Linked DNA regions of Homo sapiens: all the other regions are linked to region 1. Evidence: promoter capture Hi-C in 16 types of primary human blood cells and fetal thymus (Javierre and others, 2016). All regions are on one chromosome and are shown on one strand. The core of a region is centred on a gene start or on the middle of the fragment in contact, and the rest is flanking DNA. Distances in the headings are between cores, read along the strand shown.

The links. The method cuts DNA at HindIII sites, captures the fragments that hold promoters and counts their contacts. A CHiCAGO score of 5 or more calls a contact.
Region 2: a fragment that was not itself captured here is called in contact with the fragment with the promoter of ZNF692 in region 1 in 5 of 17 cell types (neutrophils, M2 macrophages, monocytes and 2 more); the score reaches 13.3 in neutrophils.
Region 3: a contact is called between a fragment that was not itself captured here and the fragment with the promoter of ZNF692 in region 1, in 2 of 17 cell types (erythroblasts and fetal thymus). The highest score is 7.5, in erythroblasts.

Annotation. Positions count from the first base shown.
Region 1 is chr1:248,857,835-248,860,819 of GRCh38, forward strand. It overlaps ZNF692 (zinc finger protein 692), which reads right to left and starts at 1,251. Exons shown (of 12, transcript NM_017865.4): 1 at 1,084-1,251; 2 at 297-487; 3 at 1-25. The coding sequence starts at 475. ZNF692-DT (ZNF692 divergent transcript) reads left to right here and starts at 1,330. Exons shown (of 3, transcript NR_186117.1): 1 at 1,330-1,412. RefSeq lists enhancers at 56-135, 736-785, 1,586-1,735 and a silencer at 946-1,445. The HindIII fragment of the contact is 15,686 bases long and covers 1-2,985 here.
Region 2 is chr1:248,734,282-248,737,266 of GRCh38, forward strand. No RefSeq gene overlaps it. Among named protein-coding and RNA genes, the nearest start is that of LYPD8, 20 kb to the right of the region's middle. The HindIII fragment of the contact is 3,366 bases long and covers 1-2,985 here.
Region 3 is chr1:248,924,671-248,927,655 of GRCh38, forward strand. It overlaps a transcript of PGBD2 not described here. Among named protein-coding and RNA genes, the nearest start is that of PGBD2, 20 kb to the left of the region's middle. RefSeq lists a silencer at 673-842. The HindIII fragment of the contact is 545 bases long and covers 1,309-1,853 here.

The DNA of each region.
Region 1 (2,985 bases), core at 1-2,500:
GAGGACACAGCCTGAAGAAGTGTACCTGCCAGCAGGAGAAGAGGCAGGTCAGGACTCAGGTGGCCAGCCACCCTCAGCCCTGGGCACTCACACATGTAAGGGGCCAGCCCTAAGGGCCGCTATTCGCTGAGACCATGAGGAGGGGAGCAGGACCCTCGGAGGCCACAAGTCACACAGGCCGTCCTGGTAAAGTGAGAAACCTGAGGGTGGAAAAGAGCAGCAGGACAGGCCCTGGAGAGGAGGCTAGGGGCTGCTGCCTGGGTACCCTCCCCCAAGCCCTTCTCCCGGCCCCTAACCGGTCCAACAGGAACTTGGCGAGCTGCGAGTGCAGGGAGAAGCCCAGCCGCTCCTTGAGGAGGCACCACTGCTCCATGTGGCCGCCCAGGCGGATGCGGCACTTGCTGCGGCGCGCGTCCAGCTGCCGCCGCTTCTCCCGCCGCCTGCAGGACACGTCCACCGCCGGGGAGGAAGCCATGTGCACCAGAGGCTGGAGGGTGGAAGGGACGTCTTCAGCGCCCTGCCGATCTCGGGGGTCGGGGACCCGGCTCCACCTGCCGTTAGGGCCTCAGTTTCCTCATCAGTGAACTGGGGCAAGACTAAACTATTTCAATAGCAGTGGCAGGTGTGGAGCCAAACCCCGTCCTTCTATGATACAGGGTGTTGAAGCTCAGCGCTACCATGTGAGTGTCGTCGGGTGGGAGGCAGGCAGACAGAAGCAGTCAGAACAAAGGCCTGCGCCCTCCAGTCCACTGAAGTGGAGCTGTGGGGAAGGGGCGAGAGACTTTCACGGGAAATTTCAACTGGGCTGGGGGCGGTCCACACATTTCATCTTGAATAGGGCAGCGGCCTTTACTGGTTTCTAGGGGAAGGAAAGGTCGTGTCCTGGCGTGCAGCTGGGGGCGCTCTTCATAGTTGGGTCGAGTGGCGGTGAGGCCGTGGTCAGAGGTCTGGAGGGCGCCCCCCATCCACCCCGTCTTGGGCACCCCCACTTAATGCTGACAGTGAGTGGAGCGGACTAATCCCAATGGCAGTTCCCAGGCTGCCCAGAGCCCCCGTCGCGACCCACCCCCACCCCGGCCTTACCTGTGCGCCCCCACGCGCCCTCACCCCCACTGCGCCTGCGCCTGCGCCTCCCGGGCCTAGCGAGCAGGCCCGGAGCTGCTGGAAGACAGGGGCCCACCTCGCGCGCGCAGCGTTTCTCTTTTAAGAAGAAACGGTGCCTCTCGGCGTCGGCTGCTGTAGCCCGGAACTGAGGCCCGCGCCCCAGAGGGAGGGGCGAGTCGGAGGCCGACGCCGTGCGCCTGCGCACTGGGTGCCCCGCGCAACGCCCGCCGGGAATCGTGGTTGCCCGACTCAAGTCGCCCGCGCGTGTCGCGGAGCCCCGCGGCAGTTGTGGTTGGGTGGCTTCTGTGGTGAGCGTCTGCGCTTGGTGACCAAAGGTTTGAGGGAAAGTGGAAGAGACAGGGTCAGGCCTCCTGTGCTCCAACCCCAGCCCACCCGGCCTGTATGGGGACGTTGCCTCTTCACTTGTTCCCGTTTTGTATTCACCTTCGATTTCCCCCTCACAGTTGCCACCCGCAAACATGATGCAGAATCAGTCACTTTGAAAGACCCACAGAGGGTCCAGCTAGAGCCCTCTGTGGACCGCAGAGTCCCACCAGCTACAGCCCACTTCTATTACCATCAGAATTCCTCCTAAAAGTTGCCTGCATTCTCTGTGTACGCTCACTTCCCATCCTCTTCTCTTCAAATGGCTCTGATGGAGCTTTCCTCCCCACCCAGCCACTGCAGTGGCGCTTCACAAGGTCACTTGAGACGGTCATATTGCTACATAGCAGCTGTCAGTTCCGTCCGCCTCTCTGCCCTAGAAAGAGCGCGACTATGTAGCTCTCGTCCTCCTCATCTTTATGGCTCCCTCTACATTTTGGGCCCCAGTTTTACTTCTGTGACTTCATATGCTCCAGGTTTTCCACCCTCCTCACTGGCTCCTTCTATCCTTTTTTTGGATCCATTCCCTCTGTTCTGCCAAAAGATGAAGTGTGCCCTGGCTCAGGCCTTGAACCAGATCTTCTCTCGTCTGCATATGTTCTCCTGGGTGATCTAATTAGTTCCATGGCTTTAAATACACTGATGGCTCCTAGCCTAGCCCTCTTTCAACTCCAGTCATATATCTTACTGCCCGCTTGACTTACATGTGTTAACTGAGCTAACACGTGTAAAGAATGTAGGACAGTGCCTGGCATGTAGAGAGCGCTGACACATGATAGCTGATATTTTCTCCAACATAAATATGGCAAACATATAACAATAACGCCTGTACCCTCCCCCATGCCAGTAAACTATGTCATCATCCACCCACTTGTTCAGAAAAAAGGGAATCAGCCTTGATTCTTTGCCTTTTATGATACCTAAACCATATACATCAGCAAATCTTGTTGGTCCTGTCTCCAAAAATTTATCTTAAATCCAATCACTTCTGACCCTCTCAACTGCTAAAACCCTACTCCAAGCCACTGGTATTAATTTTCTGTAATTGTTGTAACAAATTGTGTTGTGTGTTGTTTTCAGCCACAAACTTGCTCCCTTTACTCAAATTTATTTTCTCACAGTTCTGGAGGCCAAGGCATCAGCAGGGCCACAGGCCATTGTAAGGGCTCTAGGGGAGAATCCTTTCCTTGCTTCTTCTAGCTTCTAATGGTGGCCAGCATTCTCTGACTTGTGGCCACGTCACTCCAATCTCTGTCTCTGAGGTCACATTGCCTCCTTCTGTGTCAAATCTCCCTCTGCTTCTCTCTTACAAGGATGCTTGTGAATGCATTTAGAGTCCATCCTTATAATCCAAATAATCTCTCCATCTCAGTATCCTAAGACAATTTCTTCTGTAAAGTATTTGCCATATAAAGTAATCGGCTGCACACGGTGGCTCACGCCTGTAATCCCAGCACTTTGGGAGGCCAAGGCGGGTGGATCACTTGAGGTCAGGAG
Region 2 (2,985 bases), core at 343-2,842, 120 kb before region 1:
AGCCAGATTTGGGTGCTTAAGGACTCGGCAAAACATTTCTAGGTTCACTCGTTGAGTTAAATATGTACATTGAAGATTTATTTCTGCATTCTCTATTCTATTCCATTGGTCTATTTGTCTGTTTTTATGCCAGAACTATGCTGTTTGGGTTACTACAGCTTTATAGTATCTTTTGAAGTAAGGTGGTGTGATGACTCTGGCTTTGTTCTTTTTTCTCAGGATTGCTTTGGCTATATAGGGTCTTTTGTGGTTTCATATGAATTTAATTGCTTTTTCTATATCTGTGAAGAATGTCATTGGTATTTTGATAAGGATTGCATTGAATCTGTAGATTGCTTTGAGTAGTACAGACACTTTAACAATATTAATTCTTCCAGTCTATGAACACGGGATATCTTTTCATTTTTTTTTTCTGTGCCCTCTTTAAGTTCTTTCATTAGTGTTTTATAGTTTTCATTGTAGAGCTCTTTCAACTCTGGTTAAATTCATTTCTAGGTTTTTTTTTTTGTAGTCATTATGAATTAAACTGCTTTCTTGATTTTTTCAGATTGTTCACTATTAGCAAATAGAAATGCTACTGATTTTTGCGTGTTGAATTTGTAGCCTCCAACTTTACTGAGTTCATTTAGCAATTCTAACAGTTTTTGGCGTATTCTTAAGGTTTTTCTAAATATAAGATCATGTCATCTGCAAACAAGGACAATTTGACTTATTTTTTTTTCTTCTTTTTATTTGAGATGGAGTCTCGATCTGTCACCCAGGCTGGAGTGCAGTGGCGCCATCTTGGCTCACTGCAAGCTCCACCTCCTGGGTTTATGCCATTCTCCTGCCTCAGCCTCCCGAGTAGCTGGGACTACAGGCGCCCACCACCATGCCTGGCTAATTTCTTTGTATTTTTTAGTAGAGACGGGGTTTCACCATGTTAGCCAGGATGGTCCCGATCTCCTGACCTCGTGATCTGCCTGCCTCAGCCTCCTAAAGTGCTGGGATTACAGGCATGAGCCACTGCATCCGCCTGACTTATTTTTTTTCTATTTTGAATGTCCTTTATTTCTTTCTCTTGTCTAATTGCTTGGGCTAGAACTTTCAGTACTGCATTGAATAAAAGTGGTGACAGTGAACATCCTTGTCTTGTACCAGATCTTAGAGGAAAAGCTGGATGTTAGTTGGATGTTAACTGTGGATTTGTCATGTATTACCTTGATTGTTTTGAGGTGTGTTCCTTCTATACCCCATTTGTCAAGGGTTTATCATGAAAAGATGATGAATGTATGTTAAGTGAAATAAGCCAGGCATGAAAAGACAAATATTCCATGTTTTCACTCATGTGGGAGCTAACAAAGTTTATCTCATGGATATAAAGAGTAGAATGGAGATTAACGGAGATTAGTTAAGGTGGGGGGAGGTAGGAATAAAGAGAGGTTGGTTAATGGGTAACAAAAATACATTTCAATAGAAGGACTAAGTCCTTGTGTTCAACAGCACAGTGGGCTATAATTTTTGTATTTCAAAATAGCTAAAGAGGAAGATTTGTGATGTTCCCAATACAAAAAAATTGATAAAAGTCTGAGGTGACGAATATCCCAATTACCTGGATTTGATCATTATATATTATATGCATGTATCAAAATATCACATGTACCCCATAAATATTATATGCACAATTATTATATATATATTGAAAATGTACATTGAAGACACATAGTGATAAGTGGTTTTTACTTTGGTTCAATTTATATTTCAGATTAAAGGTTATTTGGAGATTTAGTTCAAGAAACTTTTAGCTCAGACGTGCTAAACCCAGTCTTGAGCACAAAGAAAGGAACCCTACACCCTCCTTTTGTCTTCCTGGCTGAGGCAGTGAGAAGGGGTCAAAAGGGCTTGGGGGTCTGATGGAAACAGTACCTTATCCTAACCCCTTCCATGAGGCAGAATTGTTGCTGGGAAAATCTGACCCCTGGGGACTATTCTGCCTGTTGTCTTGAGCCTGGGTGTTGCTGAGTGAATGCTGAACTCAATGGGTTGTGAGCAGGGTGTTGCCTGTCATTTCAGGAGGGGAGAGTGGAGATGCCTGGGGCTAGCGTGGAGTGAGCTGCGTAGCAGCCCAGGGGAACTACTGGAGAGGCTTTCATGTCTTCACTGGGGTGGAGGGTAGTTACAAGGGCAAGTTTGGTGATACCCATCAGACTGCACACATACATTTTATTGTATGTAAATCCTGCCTAAAATGTGATTGTGTATACAATTTCATTCTAAATAAAATAAACCAACATGGGCAAAAGAACTTTACAAATTTTAAAGTACTGTGGAAAGACAAGGCCACTGTCATTAGTCCAGCCACACAGTGTGAGTGTAGAATTCTGTGGAGTTTCTCAGATATGGGGGCTTATCCTAGACCCCAGGCTGGGTCTAATGAAGAATTGCCAGTAAGGGGCTTTAGCTTAGGTGCAAAGTATGAGACCCGGCTCAGGGGCCAGAGGACAGGAGTCTAGAGTTAAGCATGAAGAGCCAGGAGGAAAAAAAGGTAGACACACGGGCAGGAGTGGCACTCTGCTCAATTCCCTGCTCTGGGTAAGGAGGTGGGAGCCAGTAATGCAAATGGAAGTACATTAGGGTACTAGTTTATACTCCATTAATGGGATGAAAAGCATCTACCCCTGGGCAGTACCCACTACTTCTGTTTAACTTTCTTGCTGCCCTGTCTTTCTACCTTCATCCTGCAGTCTAGGCAATCTTCCCAGAATGGAAACCCAATCCACTCTTACTATCTCACTTAACTATACATTGACTCCCCATGGCCTTCAATCTAAAGCCAGAGTCATCTACAATGCTGTGGAGGCCTCCTGGGCTCTGGTCCTACTTGTCCTTCAGGCAGGCTCCCATGTGACCCTTTGCAGTTCCCCAAACATGTCGCTGCTTCCTCACATCAACGTGGAGCACTGGGGCTTCCAGAAGATTTTAAGAACCAGTTAGCTGGTAGTTCAG
Region 3 (2,985 bases), core at 331-2,830, 67 kb after region 1:
CATGGTAAATTCAAAAAGTAGCAAAGACACATTTTGTTTCTGTCTCTTTAACTGAGAAAACTGGTTGATGCCTCCTGTGTGTGAGCACCATGTAGCTGATGCAGATACAGAAACTGAGGTTTTCTTACTTGCTGCCACTGGCCCCGGCACTGGAGGTTGGCTCTGGGAGGGCAGGGTGTCTGTTTTTCTTACCACTCAGCAAGTGCCACACAAATATAAATGGGTGTCTCTGCCCTCTAGTGGATTCTGGCAGGCACTGGGAGCAAATGTGACTATAAAAAAAGTGAAAGATGTAAAAAATACACATTATCTCCAGAGGGGATTTAATTCTAACGGAGGGCTTTTTTTTTTCTTTTTCAAATGGGCTGATGGGTAAAAATGCAAGACTGGATATGTTGGAAAAAAGCACATTGCATTTGCCTTTTGGCATCTGTGATGACTGAGTCCTTCCTCAGCGCTGCCACAGGGAGCACATTCACACGTGTGTCACACAAATACCAAGGTTAGGTCAAAAAACCAAGTGTTACCTGGAGGAAGCCACAAAGACTATGAGACCAAGACCTCACCTAGAAGACACTTGATAGTTCAGAAGCCGAGATCCTGCGAGGTGTCTCAGAGAGCTCAGCTGTGACCCCGCACTGTATGGAAGGGCGGGCAGTGGGGCCCAGGCAGGGGAAGAGAATTGTCCACTGTTGAGCATCATCATTCTAAAACCCACATGTAATGCTATTGCTGCAAAACCGCTGACTGTTGAAGCCACAAACCACAGAAACAGACTCCCTTTATGGTCCTCACTGTGCAACCGGTGGCTTTTCAGAAGATGAAGATTCAACATATTAATCATAAATTCAAAGCATCAGAAGAAATACTAGGATATTTTCTAACCTCTGCTACCATGACTTTTTTTTTTTTTTTTTGGCGAGATTCGTGAATTATTGTAAATAAGTTCACAGAGGCCAAAGTGCTCCCCTGAAGTCATCCAGGAAGAGGCAGGCTGCTAATCCCCACATCTGAGACATCTGTGTTTTCTTAGGATAATAAGGGAAAGAGAGAGGGACAGAAATAGACAGACAGAGAATTGGAGCTAAGAGGAAACATTTTCAGATTTTGCCCCCCAAAATTCCCAGTGAACATTCCCATTGCCAGCGGGGGAGTTCCAAGGCCCTGGCTCCAGGATCCTGCTCTTTCCTTTGGTGACTCCTGTACAGATTTGGCATAGAAACAATATGGAACTTGTTACACTTCTCTGGACAAGTCATTATGCTTTTGGCTCACAGGCTCCACTTCTCTGGACACCCCTTCACCCTAAGCTTCAAGTAATTCAGCTTCACCCTTCAGAGAAGAGCTCAGCTGTCACTTCCTCTAAGGACCCTCCCCAGCCGCCTCTCCAGCAGAAGGGCCTCCACCTTGCTTTTTGCACATCTGTCCCTCGAGGTGCTGCTGTTCTCTGTGGAGCTGAAAAAAGGTGGTGATGCCCTGAAATTCAGCAAACTGCAGGGACACGTGTTGTTCTACCCCAGGTCAGAGTGTGTCGGTCATCACTTGATGCCACTCACAGACCACCAACTTCAGAATATCTAGGTGTAAAGCTCTGTACAAAAGTTGTAACATAATAATGTAAATAATTTTACATTATTATTAATAAATTATATTACACTATTACATAATGTAAAGGCTATTAAAACATATTTGTCTTCAAAGAATGGCCTTGGTTTCTGTGGGCAGTGTCTCCTTATGGAAAGGTAGTGCATTCCTGCTAAGTCATGGACAAAATGGGCCTCCAGGAGCTGCAAGCTGTAGTAGCAGCTTCTCGTCTACGTCCTTCACTGCATGATACTGTTGTTGACTTTGAAAGCTTCTTTTGGTCTAGTTTTATCAACAGAGCTAGTATTTCATGAAGATCTACTGCATACCAGGTTCCAGAAAGCTAAATGCCTTTTGTTTGTTATTACTCACTAAACACAAACCACAACTCTCTTCTCATTACTCACACAACAAAATTTAGCTGAGGAAGATGGAGTGACTTTCCCAGGGTCGCACAGCTACTAAGAGCAGAGTCGTGTTTAGATTCATGTGGGAATACTGAACACTGAAATGAACCAGCAGAAATATCCTATGTTCCAAAAGCCTACTCAAGCCATATGTTCTTATTTTAAGGAAAATCTTTATGCTAATTTTAAACTCCAAATACCTATGAATGGCAGAGATCTACAGATTTGATTCTGATATAAGAGATGATGCTCACCAGCTGGTTACTGCTACCACCCCACAACCCCGAGCATACTGGACAAATGTCTCAGCCTCGTGGTTAGTGGAGACAATGATAGTGGAGTCTGAAGTTGTCATGCAGTGACTCATGCAAGCTTAGGCAGATTTGGTGATATATGGCACAGAGATGCAAAGAAATGCTGTAGCTGACACACAAAGGCTGGCTCTGGGAGATGCAGAAGGAGTATGTCGCCCAAAATAGAGCCAGACAGACATCCTTAAGGAAGGAGCAAAGGGGCTGCATCTTAAAGAATGAAGAAGAGATTTGTCATGAGAGATGGGACAGGGAGTTCTTGAGAGGCAGAGGGAGAGCATGAGAATGTCGGGAAGGGAGGAGAGATTCTCGCACATCTGGGAAGCTGACAATCCATCAGCATGGCCAGAAGGAAAATAAGGAGGAGGAGCAGAAATAATAGATGATGCTGGATATAGAAGCAGGGCTGAAGCTGTGTCGATTGTGGTAGAGTTGTGATTCTATGCAGAAGGCAATAGGTAGCATTCTAAACAGAGATCTTTTAAAACAAGAGTCAGCAAATATTTTCTGCAAAGGGCTAAATGTTAAATATTTTAAGTTTTCCAAGCCATGTGGTCCCTCTCTCAATGACTCAGCTCTTCCATTATACCATGAAAGTAGCCAGAGACATTATATAACACATGTATGTGGCTGTGTCACATTACAACTTTACTTACAAACGCAGACTGTGTCAGACATGGCCC